2 separate regions of the Homo sapiens genome follow, and region 2 is linked to region 1. The links are contacts of gene promoters, found by promoter capture Hi-C in human tissues and cell types (Jung and others, 2019). All regions are on one chromosome and are shown on one strand. The core of a region is centred on a gene start or on the middle of the fragment in contact, and the rest is flanking DNA. Distances in the headings are between cores, read along the strand shown. Region 1 holds the start of IFNGR2 (interferon gamma receptor 2). Region 2 overlaps IFNAR2-IL10RB (IFNAR2-IL10RB readthrough).

Region 1 (6,235 bases), core at 3,736-6,235:
CTCACTGATGGAATAGCCGGGTCATGGGGAGCTGTGGAGCGCTTGACTGGGCACAGAGCTGGGTCTCATTACGAGAAAACTGAACAGCATGATGAGAAGTTTGCTGTGAAATGCAGGGGGCTTTGGCACTAGACAGGCCTGGCTAGGAGCCCACACTGCCACTCATTGGCTGTGTGATTTGGGGCATGCTCAGCCAGATTTTGATCCAACAAGCAAAACCATCATGTGATGTGATGTGTGTGTGTGTGTGTGTGCGTGTGTGTGTGTGTGTGTGTGTGTGTGTGTTGTTATATTACAGAGATTTGACCTCACATAAACATGAGAGATGTGTGCACAGTCCAGGAGAGACAATTTTCCCCTGTCCGGTGCTGGAGCCTGAAGTCCTCAGGGCAGGAGGCCGGGAAGAGAAGGTGGACAAGAGATGGAGGAAGCAGGGACAAGCTGAAATCTAAGGCTCAGCTGCCACCCTCCTCACCCTGCTCTCCATCTCCACACCTCCAGCTTACACGACCACATGAGATCCACGGGGAGCTGGAGGAGCCTGGAGCCTGTCTGCATCCCTGCCATCTAGGACATCAGCAGAGAAGCCACAGGTCGGGAGCTGCAAAGATGGATGCCTTGTGCCCTGCCCCAGCCTCCCAAGGGTAAAGGAATATGGCTGCACCTTTCCTTCCATCTTCCAAGTCTCGCACATTGCTAGGGTTTGAATGTGTCCCCAAATTTCACGTGCTGGAAATTTGATTCCCAATATGGCAGTATGGAGGAATGAGGCCTTTCAGAGGTGATTGGTTATGGTGATCCTGCCCTCATGGATGGGTGGATTCATTCATGGACTAATGGGTTCATGGACCAATGGTTATCATGGGAGTGGGGCTGGTGGCTTTATAAAAGAGGGGATGGGCATGGTGGCTCACTCCTGTAATCCCAACACTTTGGGAGGCCGAGGCAGGTGGATCACTTGAGGTCAGTAGTTCAAGACCAGGGCAACAGGTGAAACACCAACTCTACTAAAAATACAAAAATTAGCCGGGTGTGGTGGCAGGTGCCTGTAATCCCAGCTACTTGGGAGGCTGAGGCAGGAAAATTGCTTGAACCCAGGAGGCAGAGGTTGCAGTGAGCCAAGATTGCACCATTGCACTCCAGCCTAGGCAACAGAGTGATACTCCATCTCAAAAGAAAAAAAAAAAAAAGAGGAAGATAAATCCGAGCACCTTAGCACCCTCAGCCCCCCTTGCCATGTGATGCCCTGACCACCTCATGACTCTGCAGAGAATCTCCACCAGCAAGAAGGCCCTCACCAGATTTAGTCCCTAGACCTTGGACTTCTCAGCCTCCCAAAATGTAAGAAATAAATGCCTTTTCTTTATCAATTACCCAGCTTCAGATATTCTGTTATAAGCAACAGAAAATGGACCAAGACACACACAAACATCCTTCCCTGCCCATGTTACCTCAGAACTTTTCAGGGAGGGGAATTCTAGGAAATGCAGTTACAGTTTAGCAGACCTACTGCAGTGCAAACCCACCACAGGCCAAGTCACTGAACTCTGCTAGTGTCCCCATGGGACAGCCATCGCCTGCCTAACTGGGAGGTCTGAGTGTTATAATACCTAGAGAAGCACCACTGGCCAGCAAAAAATGTTGGCTTCTTTCTGCCATCCCCCACCCACTCTCCTGAGGGAGGTGAGAGGAGTCCCTCTAGGCTATTAGAAATGCTTCAGGAAGATCAACTGATTACAAGGTAAGGAATTAATGGAAAGGGATGGTGCAGATTCAGGGTTTGTAGGGCTGAAGTGTATATAATAGATGGAGCCCTCTTTATAAACAAATACACAACTCACTATAAAATTAGGCACAAAAGTATTTCTTTTTCTTTTCTTTTTTTTTTTTTTTTGAGATGGAGCCTTACTCTGCACTCAGGCTGGAGTGCAGTGGTGCTGTCTCAGCTCACTGCAACCTCCATCTCCCAGGTTCAAGCAATTGTCATGCCTCAGCCTCCCAAGTAGCTGGGATTACAGGCACCTGCCACTATGCCTGGCTAATTTTTCTATTTTTAGTAGAGATGGGGTTTCACCATGTTGGCCAGGCTGGTCTTGAACTCCTGACCTCAGGTGATCCACCCACCTCGGCCTCCCAAAGTGCTGGAATTACAGGTGTGAGCCACCACATCTGGCCAAAAGTATTTCTTTAGAATGATATACAGGTTACAATTTTTTTTTTTTTTTTGAGACAGAGTCTTGCTCTGTGGCTCAGGCTAGAGTGCAGCAGCATGATCTCAGCTCACGGCAACCTCCACCTCCTGGGTTCATGTGATTCTCCTGTCTCAGCCTCCCAAGTAGCAGGGATTACAGGCACATGCCACCACGCCTGGCTAATTTTTGTATTTTTAGTAGAGACGAGTTTCACCATGTTGGCCAGGCTGGTCTTGAACTCCTGATCTCAGGTGATCCACCTGGCTCAGCCTCCCAAAGCGCTGGGATTAGAGGCGTGAGCCACCGCACCCAGCCATCAAAGATGTAACCTTGAAACAAACTGCAGAAGCCTTTTCCCTTAGCCTTAAAATGGACTCCATGTCCCTCCCTTCTTCACCGTATAAACTCCCTTCACATTTATCTAACTGTATGCCCGTGTCTAGTTACGTGCCTTCTTAGAGGTTCCAGACGCTAATCTTGAGACAGACAGACCAAGCCTGGAGATTCTTCTGCAAAATTCCACATGTGACCTCAAGGCGTCTAATTAAGAATCCAGCCATTGTTGAGATGATGCCAGACCACAGGCTTCCTGTGGACTAGGACCCAAGACAGCCACCGGAACAAGACAAACAGACAGTGTACTTAGCATAATCCTTGCCTGACTTCCACATCGTTTTCCCGTTTTAAACCCTTGCCTTGGCCGGGCGCGGTGGCTCACGCCTGTAATCCCAGCACTTTGGGAGGCCGAGGCAGGCAGATCACGAGGTCAGGAGATCGAGACCAACCTGGCTAACACGGTGAAAACCCATCTCTACAAAAAACACAAAAAATTAGCCGGGTGTGGTGGCGTGCGCCTGCAGTCCCAGCTACTCGGGAGGCTGAGGCAGGAGAATGGTGTGAACCCAGAAGGCGGAGCTTGCAGTGAGCGGAGATCACACCACTGCACTCCAGCCTGGGTGACGGAGACTCTGTCTCAAATAAATAAATAAATAAATAAATAAATAAATAAATAAATAAATAAAATAAATAACCCTTGCCTTTCCCACTCCCCATACCCCACAATTCAACGTGATTGCTTTGGGGATAGGAATCCAACCACTTCCCCTTGCTAGCTTTGGAAATAAAGTCACTTTCTTTCCACCACATCTTGCTCTTGTTAGACTCTGCAAGCAGCCAGCGACTGAACCAGCATTCGGTTACATCCCCTGAGGCGGATGACACTTGTGTGATCCTGTAACCGATTTCTTGTTAGAATGTTGGCATCTTTCACCCAGTCGTTTTCTTGTAATTTTATTTATTTGTTTGAAAACAGAATCCTTCTTGCAATCCTGTCATTTTCAGTGCCTTTTTTTTTTTTTTTTTTTTTTTTTTTTTTTTTTTTTTTTGAGACGGAGTCTCGGTCTGTCACCCAGGCCGGGGTGCAGTGGCGCAATCTCCGCTCACTACAACCTCCGCCTCCCGGGTTCAAGTGATTCTCCTGTCTTAGCCCTCCAAGTAGCTGGGATTACAGGCGCCGGCCACCACGCCTGACTAATTTTTGTATTTTTAGTAGAGACGGGTTTCAGCCATATTGGCCAGGCTGGTCTCCAACTCCTGGCCTCATGTGATCCGCCCACCTCGGCCTCCTAAAGTGCTGAGATTACAGGCGTGAGCCACCGCGCCTGGCATCAGTGCATACTTTTTGAAGTGATTCCAAGTTATCGCCCGCTTTTTTCGTGTAACATATAAATACATCTCTGTATCTAGAAATATCCAATGCATAATTCAATTGTCTGCGAGGTATTTCATCACGTATTTTCACGAGCGTGGCCAATTTCAAAATAGTTCTACAAAGAGGAAATGCAAGAATGTGGGAAGAGCAAAAGAAAAGCTCTATGTTGCAAAACCCATTTTTGCTAACGTGTCCAGTGGGCTCCCGGGACGACCTGTTTTTAAATTCTTGGTCTCCCTGCACCGCGTCCCTCCTTTGCTGCGCTAGCTTTATGACGCATCTTGGAAGAACAGGGCAGATTTAAAACCCTCTCCCAACAGGCGTCAAACGACATGGTGCAGGCTCGGGCTGGGGAGCGGGCCTGCGGCTGCCCAGCTGCTAAAGGACTTCCTACTCGTGCACCGCCGCCGGCTCCAGGGCAAACCCCACGCCATTTAGAAATGCTGGAAGTTTCTGTCTCTCCCTCCCCCTGCTCGGAGGCCATTCCCCCCACCCCCAGAGCCCCACCTCCTCCTTCACTGGGCCCTTTCTAACTCCTTCCCCTTAAAACCCTTTTCAAAATGGGGTTGACTGGAGGCGGAGGTTGCAGTGAGCCGAGATCGCCCCACTGCACTCCAGCCTGGTGACTCCGTCTCAAAAAAAAGGGGAGGGGGGCGGGGGAGAGTTGAAAGCTTAATATGTACTTTGGGGGCTATTAAAGCAAACATTTCGACTAAAGGGGCGAATCCTCGAATTGTGCGATCAAGCACCCGAGAGGAGAGTTGGGGGGGGTCAGGAGGGGTGGGGGCTCCAGGGAAAGCCCGGGGGTCTGGGCCGGGGTCTCGCGGGGCCCTTCCGGAAGGATCGCGGCCCCCGAAGGTGGGCGTCCCGCGGGGCTCCAGTCTCCAGGACGTTCCGGGAGGCTCCGCGCTCTGGGAGGCCGGCTGCGTGGGGTCCCCGCGCTGCAGCCGCAGAGGCCCCCCAGGGCCGCGGTTCCCGGAGCGGGAAAGTCCCGCGCGGGGGCGGTGGCCTCGGGGGCGGGACGGGGCGGGGGCGGGGGCGCGGGCGGCCGAGCCGAATCCCCTCCACCGGGACGCCCCGCTGCTGCTCGGGAAGAGGCGGGCCCTGCGCGCCCTGCGCTCGCCATGGCGGTTTGGGCGGCGACGTGAGCGGCTCCGCGGACCCCGAGCGGGGCCCCGGCCGCGACCTGAGCCGCCGCCGAGCGCCCGGGGCCATGCGACCGACGCTGCTGTGGTCGCTGCTGCTGCTGCTCGGAGTCTTCGCCGCCGCCGCCGCGGCCCCGCCAGGTGAGCCGGGCCTGGGCCTCCGCGGCGGGACGCGGGCGCAGCCGCAGCATGTGGGGGCTGGGGGACTCCCGGATCGTGGGGTGGGGGGAATCTGCCGGGTGCTCAGAGTGGGTGGGAATCTGCGGGGTGCTCCTGGTGGGTGGGATATGCGGAGTGCTCAGATCAGGTGGGAACCTGCGGGTGCCCCAGGTGGGGGTCTTGCGGGGTGCCCAGGGCTAGAGGGGCCCGCTGGGAGCCCGCAGCGGGGCTGGGATGGGCGGCCAGGAGTTCCAGACAGGAGCTGGGCAGCAGCAGGAAGACGGGGGGCACCCCTCCTGGCGTCCTGGCCGCCGGGACACCCCTCTCCGGGAGAGGACACTCGGTGCCCCTCCGTGAAGCCGGTAACCTCGGCTGCGCCACCTCCCCCACCCGCGCGCCCGCGCCGGGAAAGCCAGCGTGGCCCCAGTCTCCGAATTTCTCGGAATGAACAACAGCAAATTGAATCCAGGGCTCCGGCGGGGGCCGCCTTTGCTGGCCACTGGTTCTGCAGCCTGGCGAGACTGCGCTTAGTCCCCGCCTGGAGTGCCTCCCGAAGGCCTGGCTGGAAGCTAGACTCAGTCCCTTTGTAGTAGCAGCGGTGGAGCAGGGACCAGCGTCTTGGACGGGTGACCCAGACTCAATTCCGACTTTGGCCGAGGGCATGTTTGACACTGGGTGTGAAATCTAGACAGTTCCCGCGGTCATAGAGATGGGGCAGCAGCATTCAGGCAGGGCTCAGAACTGTCCGGGTCCCATCAGTGTTGGGGCGGAAGAGGAAGAGTGTCAACTGAGCCAGGCATTTATTTATTTTATTGTTGTTTGAGACAGGGTGTCGCTCTGTCGCCCAGGCTGGAGTGCAGTGGGCAGCATCTCAGCTACTGCAGCCTCCGCCTCCCGTGCTCAAGCGATCCTCCCACGTCAGCCTCCCAAGAAGGTGGTATTATTGGCCACGCCTGGCCAATTTTTGTATTTTTTGTAGAGAGGAGGTCTCACTGTGTTGCCCAGGCTGTTCTTGTACTCCTGAGCTC
Region 2 (6,987 bases), core at 2,307-4,806, 140 kb before region 1:
TTCAGCAAGTGCCAAGTGCCCGAGGCAGGATATGCCTGGCACGGCACGGCAGGAGTGAACTGAACAAGGGAAGAATAGTAACAGTTCTGGTCAGAAAAGATGGAGGAGCCTGAATGACATAGAACTTAGAAGCCGTTGCAAGAGATGGGGACCCTCAGAGGGTTGTGAGCAGGTTGCTCTCCGTGATCTGACGTGGGATGTAAAGGGAACATCCATCCACATGCCTTGAAGTGGGAGCCAGGTGACCCCTGGGCTGATTACTGCAGTCACCCAGGGGAGAGGCGGTCTTACTTGTTCCAGAGAGGTAAGTACGGGAGGAACTATAAGAGACTGATGTTAGTCATCGCCAGTCTTTTCATAAAGTTCTTTATCTTTTCCATTAAAGATCATTGTGATCAGATATTACCAACCCCGTTGCTCAGTTCAGCCCTCTGCTTGTGAGGTTTCTTATTTTTTGCTTAAAATATCTCCACAGTGAATCCAGAGACAGACAGGTTTGTCCAAGGCCAAATTTTTAAGACACGACCTGGTCTCTCCTTCCCAAGATGGGTTGATCTGGTCCATCTTTCATGAAGAAGATAGTTAACAGCAGTAACATTCAATCACAGCTTCTCCTTTCTGAGTCAGAACATTGATGGGATTCATCTCTTTTCAAATATGAATATTTAAAAATAGCATGCATGTATAATTGTCATGACCCCAAGTGAGATTTCTATTTTTTAGATTATCATCAAGCTGAAAACAAACAAAAATTCTAAGTTCTCCTAAAGAATTCTCAGACTCATGAGAATACCCCAAATTGAGGAATATTATCCTAGCATATTAACTACAATTTACACAATTTGGTTTGGACATAGAGTGCATTGTAGCTGTTATATGCAAGTTGGATGGGTACATGAGTCACAATCTCTGTATTATGCCATTCCTTCACCAGTGAAATCACTTTGGTTTACAGTACCCCTTTCAAGAATGTAAACGCTATACATGTCAGAATTTTGTATCCTAAAGGCGTGCCTCTGTGGCTAGATCTGATTCTGGAACTGTCATTGATATGACAATCCAATCCTTCACACTCTTGATGGAGGTGAGAGTGGATTCTTGAACCCTGTGCTATCTAACAGTGTTTTTACTGAACTATCAAGGGTTTTTACTGAACTTCTTTCTATTCATTCCTTAACCTTCTGGAAGACTTAGAGTACATAATCCATTTGATTTCCTTTTTTCTCCCCTCTATCTATTTTTGCCTGAGGCTATAGTTCGAGGATTAATACTAATGAAGACCTTTCTGGAAGTGCAAGAGAGCCTTAGTGATATAACTACTGATTTTTCAGTCTGGTCGCACTTCAGGAAAATAACTATGGTCAGTCAAAAAGCTGAAATTTTCCAAAAGGAATTTTGATGAGAAACTAAGGGGAACTGTTAATAGAGCAAGGCAGGTTCTGCAGAGCCCTGACTTGTGGCCCCAGCGTGGCTAAAGTCCAGCCTCAGAATGACCCAGTTGGTTGTTTTCAAGCAAACTTTCCTTCCCCACTTCTTCCTGCCCGCAGCGCATGCTAACCAGTGTGGCTACCGAACGTTTGAGATGTGTTTCATGTGACTGAGAGACCGAGCTCTTAATTCTGTTTAATTTTAATCATTTAAATTCAGCCAGCTGCAGCCAGTGGCTACTCCACTGTACAGTGCAGTTATAGAACATAAACTGAAGGAAATTTTACTTTTAAAAGCTAAGTCTATTTTATTGTTTAAAAAATGCACACTTAGATAATTCTCCAGTCTCTGGTATTTCTCAATATAAAACTGTTTTTTCAAACCTTTGGTTTCTTGATCATCTTGTAACACCAGGCCAATGTACATTTATTTCCATCTGCAATTGTTTATTGCATTTTTTGAAATAAAGTCATTTAATTTTTCATCAACAGAATCAGCAGAATCTGCCAAAATAGGAGGAATAATTACTGTGTTTTTGATAGCATTGGTCTTGACAAGCACCATAGTGACACTGAAATGGATTGGTTATATATGCTTAAGAAATAGCCTCCCCAAAGTCTTGGTAGGTAGTTTTTTTGTTTTGTTTTGTTTTTTCTATCTTTGTTTTTTATTTTAACTTAAGAATTTGTATTTATATAAATATTTTCACAGAAGAAAATCTCATTTTCTATAAACACCAAAATGCTTTCTCACTCTGAGTTCTTTTCCATATCTATAAATGTATATTTTGCAGGGTTTTTGTTTTGTTTTTGTTTTTATTATACTTTTAAGTTTTAGGGTACATGTGCACAGTGTGCAGGTTAGTTACATATATATACATGTGCAGTTGTAAGTGTATCTGTGCATCTGTGCATTTTATGTTTTCTTTCCTTTTTTTTTTTTTTTTTTTTTGAGACAGTCTCACTCTGTCACCCAGGCTGGAGTACAGTGGCGTGATCTCAGCTGACTGTAACCTCTGCCTCCTAGGCTCAAGCAATTCTCGTGCCTCAGCCTCTCAAGTAGCTGGGACTACAGGCGTGTGCTACCACACCTGGCTAATTTTTGCATTTTTAGTAGAGATGGGGTTTTGCTATGTTGGCCAGGCTGGTCTTGAACTCCTGACTTCAAGTGATCCACCTGCCTTGGCCTCCCAAAGTTCTGGGATTACAGGTGTGAGCCACTGCACTCAGCAATGTTTTGTTTTGTTTTGTTTTTATACTTCATCACATAATTTATAATGATCAGGTAGAATTTCATTATTATTAACATACCATTTTTCATTTAACCATTTCTCAGCTAAAGGGCATTTGGATTTCTTTTCCTTTTCTTTTCTTTGGTGATGATGAATAGTACAATAAACATTTTTATATGGATCGTCTTTTTGTTTTGGATTATGTCAGTGGAACATATACACAAAGTGGATTTATCCTATAAAAAGATTTAAAAAGGACTAGGCACAGTGGCTCACGCCTGTAATCTCAGCACTTTGGGAGGCTGAGGCGGGTGGATCATTTGAGCCCAGGAGTTTGAGACCAGCCTGGGCAATATAAGGAAACCTTGTCTTAGAGAAAATAAAAATAAATTAGCCAGGCATGCTGGCACATGCCTGTGGTCTCAGCTACTCAGGAGGATGTGGTGAGAGGATTGCTTGAGCCCAGGAGGTGGAGGCTGCAGTGAGCTGTGATTGCGCCACTGCACTCCAGCCTCGGTTACAGAGTGAGACCCTAGCTCTAAAAATATATAAATATCTTAAAAATATAAAGAAGCAGCCAAAGGAGAGGAAGTTAAGAGGAGTAAGTCAGAACATAGTCTATGTGGCCAGCAGCCTGCCTGGTTTGAAAGGCAGCTGCTCCCACTCACTAGTCACAAACCTTGAGCAAGTTTCTTAACTTCTGCACCTCATTTTCTCATCTGTAAAGTGGGCATAAGAATAGTAAGCCTGGCCAGGCGCGGTGGCCACGCCTATAAACCCAGCACTTCGGGAGGCCAAGGCAGGTAGATCACGAGGTCGGGAGTTCAAGACCAGCCTGGCCAACATGGTGAAACCCCTTCTCTACTAAAAATACAAAAATTTGCCGGGCATAGTGGCGGGCGCCTGTAATCCCAGCTACTCAGGAGGCTGAGGCAGAGAATTGCTTGAACCTGGGAGGTGGAGGTTGCAGTGAGCCAAGACCGCACTACTGCACTCCAGCCTGGGCAACAGAGCGAGACTCCCGTCTCAAAAAAAAAAAAAAAAAAAAATAGTAAGCATACCTCATAGAGCAGTTGCAAGGGAAAGGTAAATTATATATAAAGCACCAAGAGTCATGCCCAGCATATAGTAAGCATGGTGTAACTGTTAGCTGTTATTATTGCTGTCATCATCATCAACTGCATCATCATTCAATCTCATTAAGTTTATTTTTTATTTTTTTAGAGGCAAGGTCTCGCTAAGGGCTGGAATGCAGTGGCTATTCACAGGTGCAGTCATAATGCACTACAGTCTGAAACTCCTGAGCTCAAACAGTCGTCCTGCCTAAGCTTCCCCAGTAGCTGGGATTACAAGCGTGCATCCCTGTGCCCCAGTGATTAAGTTTTATTATGTAGAAAATAAAGAGCAAACAGTACAGCTGATACGGACTCTCTCTCTCTTTTTTTTTTTTTTTAAGAATTTTCATAACTTTTTAGCCTGGCCATTTCCTAACCTGCCACCGTTGGAAGCCATGGATATGGTGGAGGTCATTTACATCAACAGAAAGAAGAAAGTGTGGGATTATAATTATGATGATGAAAGTGATAGCGATACTGAGGCAGCGCCCAGGACAAGTGGCGGTGGCTATACCATGCATGGACTGACTGTCAGGCCTCTGGGTCAGGCCTCTGCCACCTCTACAGAATCCCAGTTGATAGACCCGGAGTCCGAGGAGGAGCCTGACCTGCCTGAGGTTGATGTGGAGCTCCCCACGATGCCAAAGGACAGCCCTCAGCAGTTGGAACTCTTGAGTGGGCCCTGTGAGAGGAGAAAGAGTCCACTCCAGGACCCTTTTCCCGAAGAGGACTACAGCTCCACGGAGGGGTCTGGGGGCAGAATTACCTTCAATGTGGACTTAAACTCTGTGTTTTTGAGAGTTCTTGATGACGAGGACAGTGACGACTTAGAAGCCCCTCTGATGCTATCGTCTCATCTGGAAGAGATGGTTGACCCAGAGGATCCTGATAATGTGCAATCAAACCATTTGCTGGCCAGCGGGGAAGGGACACAGCCAACCTTTCCCAGCCCCTCTTCAGAGGGCCTGTGGTCCGAAGATGCTCCATCTGATCAAAGTGACACTTCTGAGTCAGATGTTGACCTTGGGGATGGTTATATAATGAGATGACTCCAAAACTATTGAATGAACTTGGACAGACAAGCACCTACAGGGTTCTTTGTCTCTGCATCCTAACTTGCTGCCTTATCGTCTGCAAGTGTTCTCCAAGGGAAGGAGGAGGAAACTGTGGTGTTCCTTTCTTCCAGGTGACATCACCTATGCACATTCCCAGTATGGGGACCATAGTATCATTCAGTGCATTGTTTACATATTCAAAGTGGTGCACTTTGAAGGAAGCACATGTGCACCTTTCCTTTACACTAATGCACTTAGGATGTTTCTGCATCATGTCTACCAGGGAGCAGGGTTCCCCACAGTTTCAGAGGTGGTCCAGGACCCTATGATATTTCTCTTCTTTCGTTCTTTTTTTTTTTTTTTTTTGAGACAGAGTCTCGTTCTGTCGCCCAAGCTGGAGCGCAATGGTGTGATCTTGGCTCACTGCAACATCCGCCTCCCAGGTTCAAGTGATTCTCCTGCCTCAGCCTCCCTCGCAAGTAGCTGGGATTACAGGCGCCTGCCACCATGCCTAGCAAATTTTTGTATTTTTAGTAGAGACAGGATTTTACCATGTTGGCCAGGCTGGTCTCAAACTCCTGACCTCAAGTGATCTGCCCTCCTCAGCCTCGTAAAGTGCTGGGATTACAGGGGTGAGCCGCTGTGCCTGGCTGGCCCTGTGATATTTCTGTGAAATAAATTGGGCCAGGGTGGGAGCAGGGAAAGAAAAGGAAAATAGTAGCAAGAGCTGCAAAGCAGGCAGGAAGGGAGGAGGAGAGCCAGGTGAGCAGTGGAGAGAAGGGGGGCCCTGCACAAGGAAACAGGGAAGAGCCATCGAAGTTTCAGTCGGTGAGCCTTGGGCACCTCACCCATGTCACATCCTGTCTCCTGCAATTGGAATTCCACCTTGTCCAGCCCTCCCCAGTTAAAGTGGGGAAGACAGACTTTAGGATCACGTGTGTGACTAATACAGAAAGGAAACATGGCGTCGGGGAGAGGGATAAAACCTGAATGCCATATTTTAAGTTAAAAAAAAAAAAAGCAAACACAAAGATGCTTCAAGATCTTCAGGAGAAGTATGGTATACAAGTTTCAGGGACCCTATTTGACAATTTTCAGAGTGCTCTCTATGCTGATTCCGAGTCGAGTGTGTCAGCTGTGATTACAGTGCCTGTGGATCTAGGCCGGGTTGGGGGGGTGTGGGCGGGGGAAGGGAAGTCTGGCCCGGAGCAATTGCTCCTGCCGGTAACCCCAGCACTTTGGGATGCCTAAACAGGCGTATCGCTTGAGGCCAGTAATTCGAGACCAGCCTGGGCAACATGGCAAATCTGTCTCTACAAAACAAAATTAGAAAAATTAACTGGGCGTAGTGGCATGTGCCTGTTGTCCCAGCTACTTGGGAGGCTGAGGTGGGAGAATGGCTTGAGCCCAGGAAGCGGAGGTTGCAGTGAGCCAAGATCATGTCACTGCACTTCAGCCTGGGTGACAGAACCAGACCCTGTCTTTAAAAAGGGAGTTGGTGGGGAGAGGTTCTAGAATGTCATGTAGCAACCAGTTTAAGGACTGGGACTCAGGGATCCAACTCCCACAGTTTCCCTGTGTGACCCTAGGCATTTGACTTAGCCTTTCTGAGCCTCAGGTTTTTTGTTTCTGAAGTAAAAGGATTGGACTAGGTAATCTCCAAGATCCTAGGAACCCAGGAGAAAGATGAGAAAATGTACAAGAATGAACACTCAGGTGGAAATGCTGCAATCCTGAGAAGCTCCCAGGATGAATGAAAGGCACAGGACCTCTTACCCCTCACCCCTGCCCCCCTCAAGAGCTGGTTTCTCAAACCTTTCTCTTAGGCCCCTTCAAAGGGGGAAAACTAAAAATTATACAAGTTATAGTTCAAGGACTTTAAATAGATTATTTATATGATTGCTCATAAGGATGAGGCTGTGAGGAGGGAACACCTTATTTAATCTAATGAAATTCCATAGGAAAGAGGCCTTTTGTATATTGAATCAATTTATCTGCCTTCTCAGTGCATCTGTCATATTCTGAAAGATTCTGGGTTGATCTTTTGCGATAACCTCTATGGCTGTGAGTGTGTGTGTGTGTTTGTGTATTTTTTAACATTTTGTATAATGATTGGAGGTTGGTAAAAAGTAACACAACAGTACTTTTTTAATACAAA

Evidence for each region. The method cuts DNA at HindIII sites, captures the fragments that hold promoters and counts their contacts. A contact is called where the count stands out against the background at its distance.
Region 2: a fragment that was not itself captured here is called in contact with the fragment with the promoter of IFNGR2 in region 1 in 1 of the 25 tissues and cell types used here (spleen).

Annotation. Positions count from the first base shown.
Region 1 is chr21:33,398,428-33,404,662 of GRCh38, forward strand. IFNGR2 (interferon gamma receptor 2) reads left to right here and starts at 4,986. Exons shown (of 7, transcript NM_005534.4): 1 at 4,986-5,189. The coding sequence starts at 5,117. RefSeq lists cis regulatory regions at 3,531-4,718, 4,103-4,718, 4,701, 4,711, 4,988 and 2 more, promoters at 3,934-5,090, 3,934-4,572, 3,944-5,111, 4,706-5,110 and silencers at 4,665-5,204, 5,215-5,294, 5,315-5,364, 5,505-5,554. The HindIII fragment of the contact is 6,342 bases long and covers 1,726-6,235 here.
Region 2 is chr21:33,258,678-33,265,664 of GRCh38, forward strand. The region is part of intron 7 of IFNAR2-IL10RB (IFNAR2-IL10RB readthrough); the gene reads left to right. It overlaps IFNAR2 (interferon alpha and beta receptor subunit 2), which reads left to right. Exons shown (of 9, transcript NM_001289125.3): 8 at 1,920-2,050; 9 at 4,116-6,987. The coding sequence ends at 4,823. IL10RB-DT (IL10RB divergent transcript) reads right to left here. Exons shown (of 2, transcript NR_038974.1): 2 at 6,955-6,987. Among named protein-coding and RNA genes, the nearest start is that of IL10RB-DT, 4.1 kb to the right of the region's middle. The HindIII fragment of the contact is 4,422 bases long and covers 1,346-5,767 here.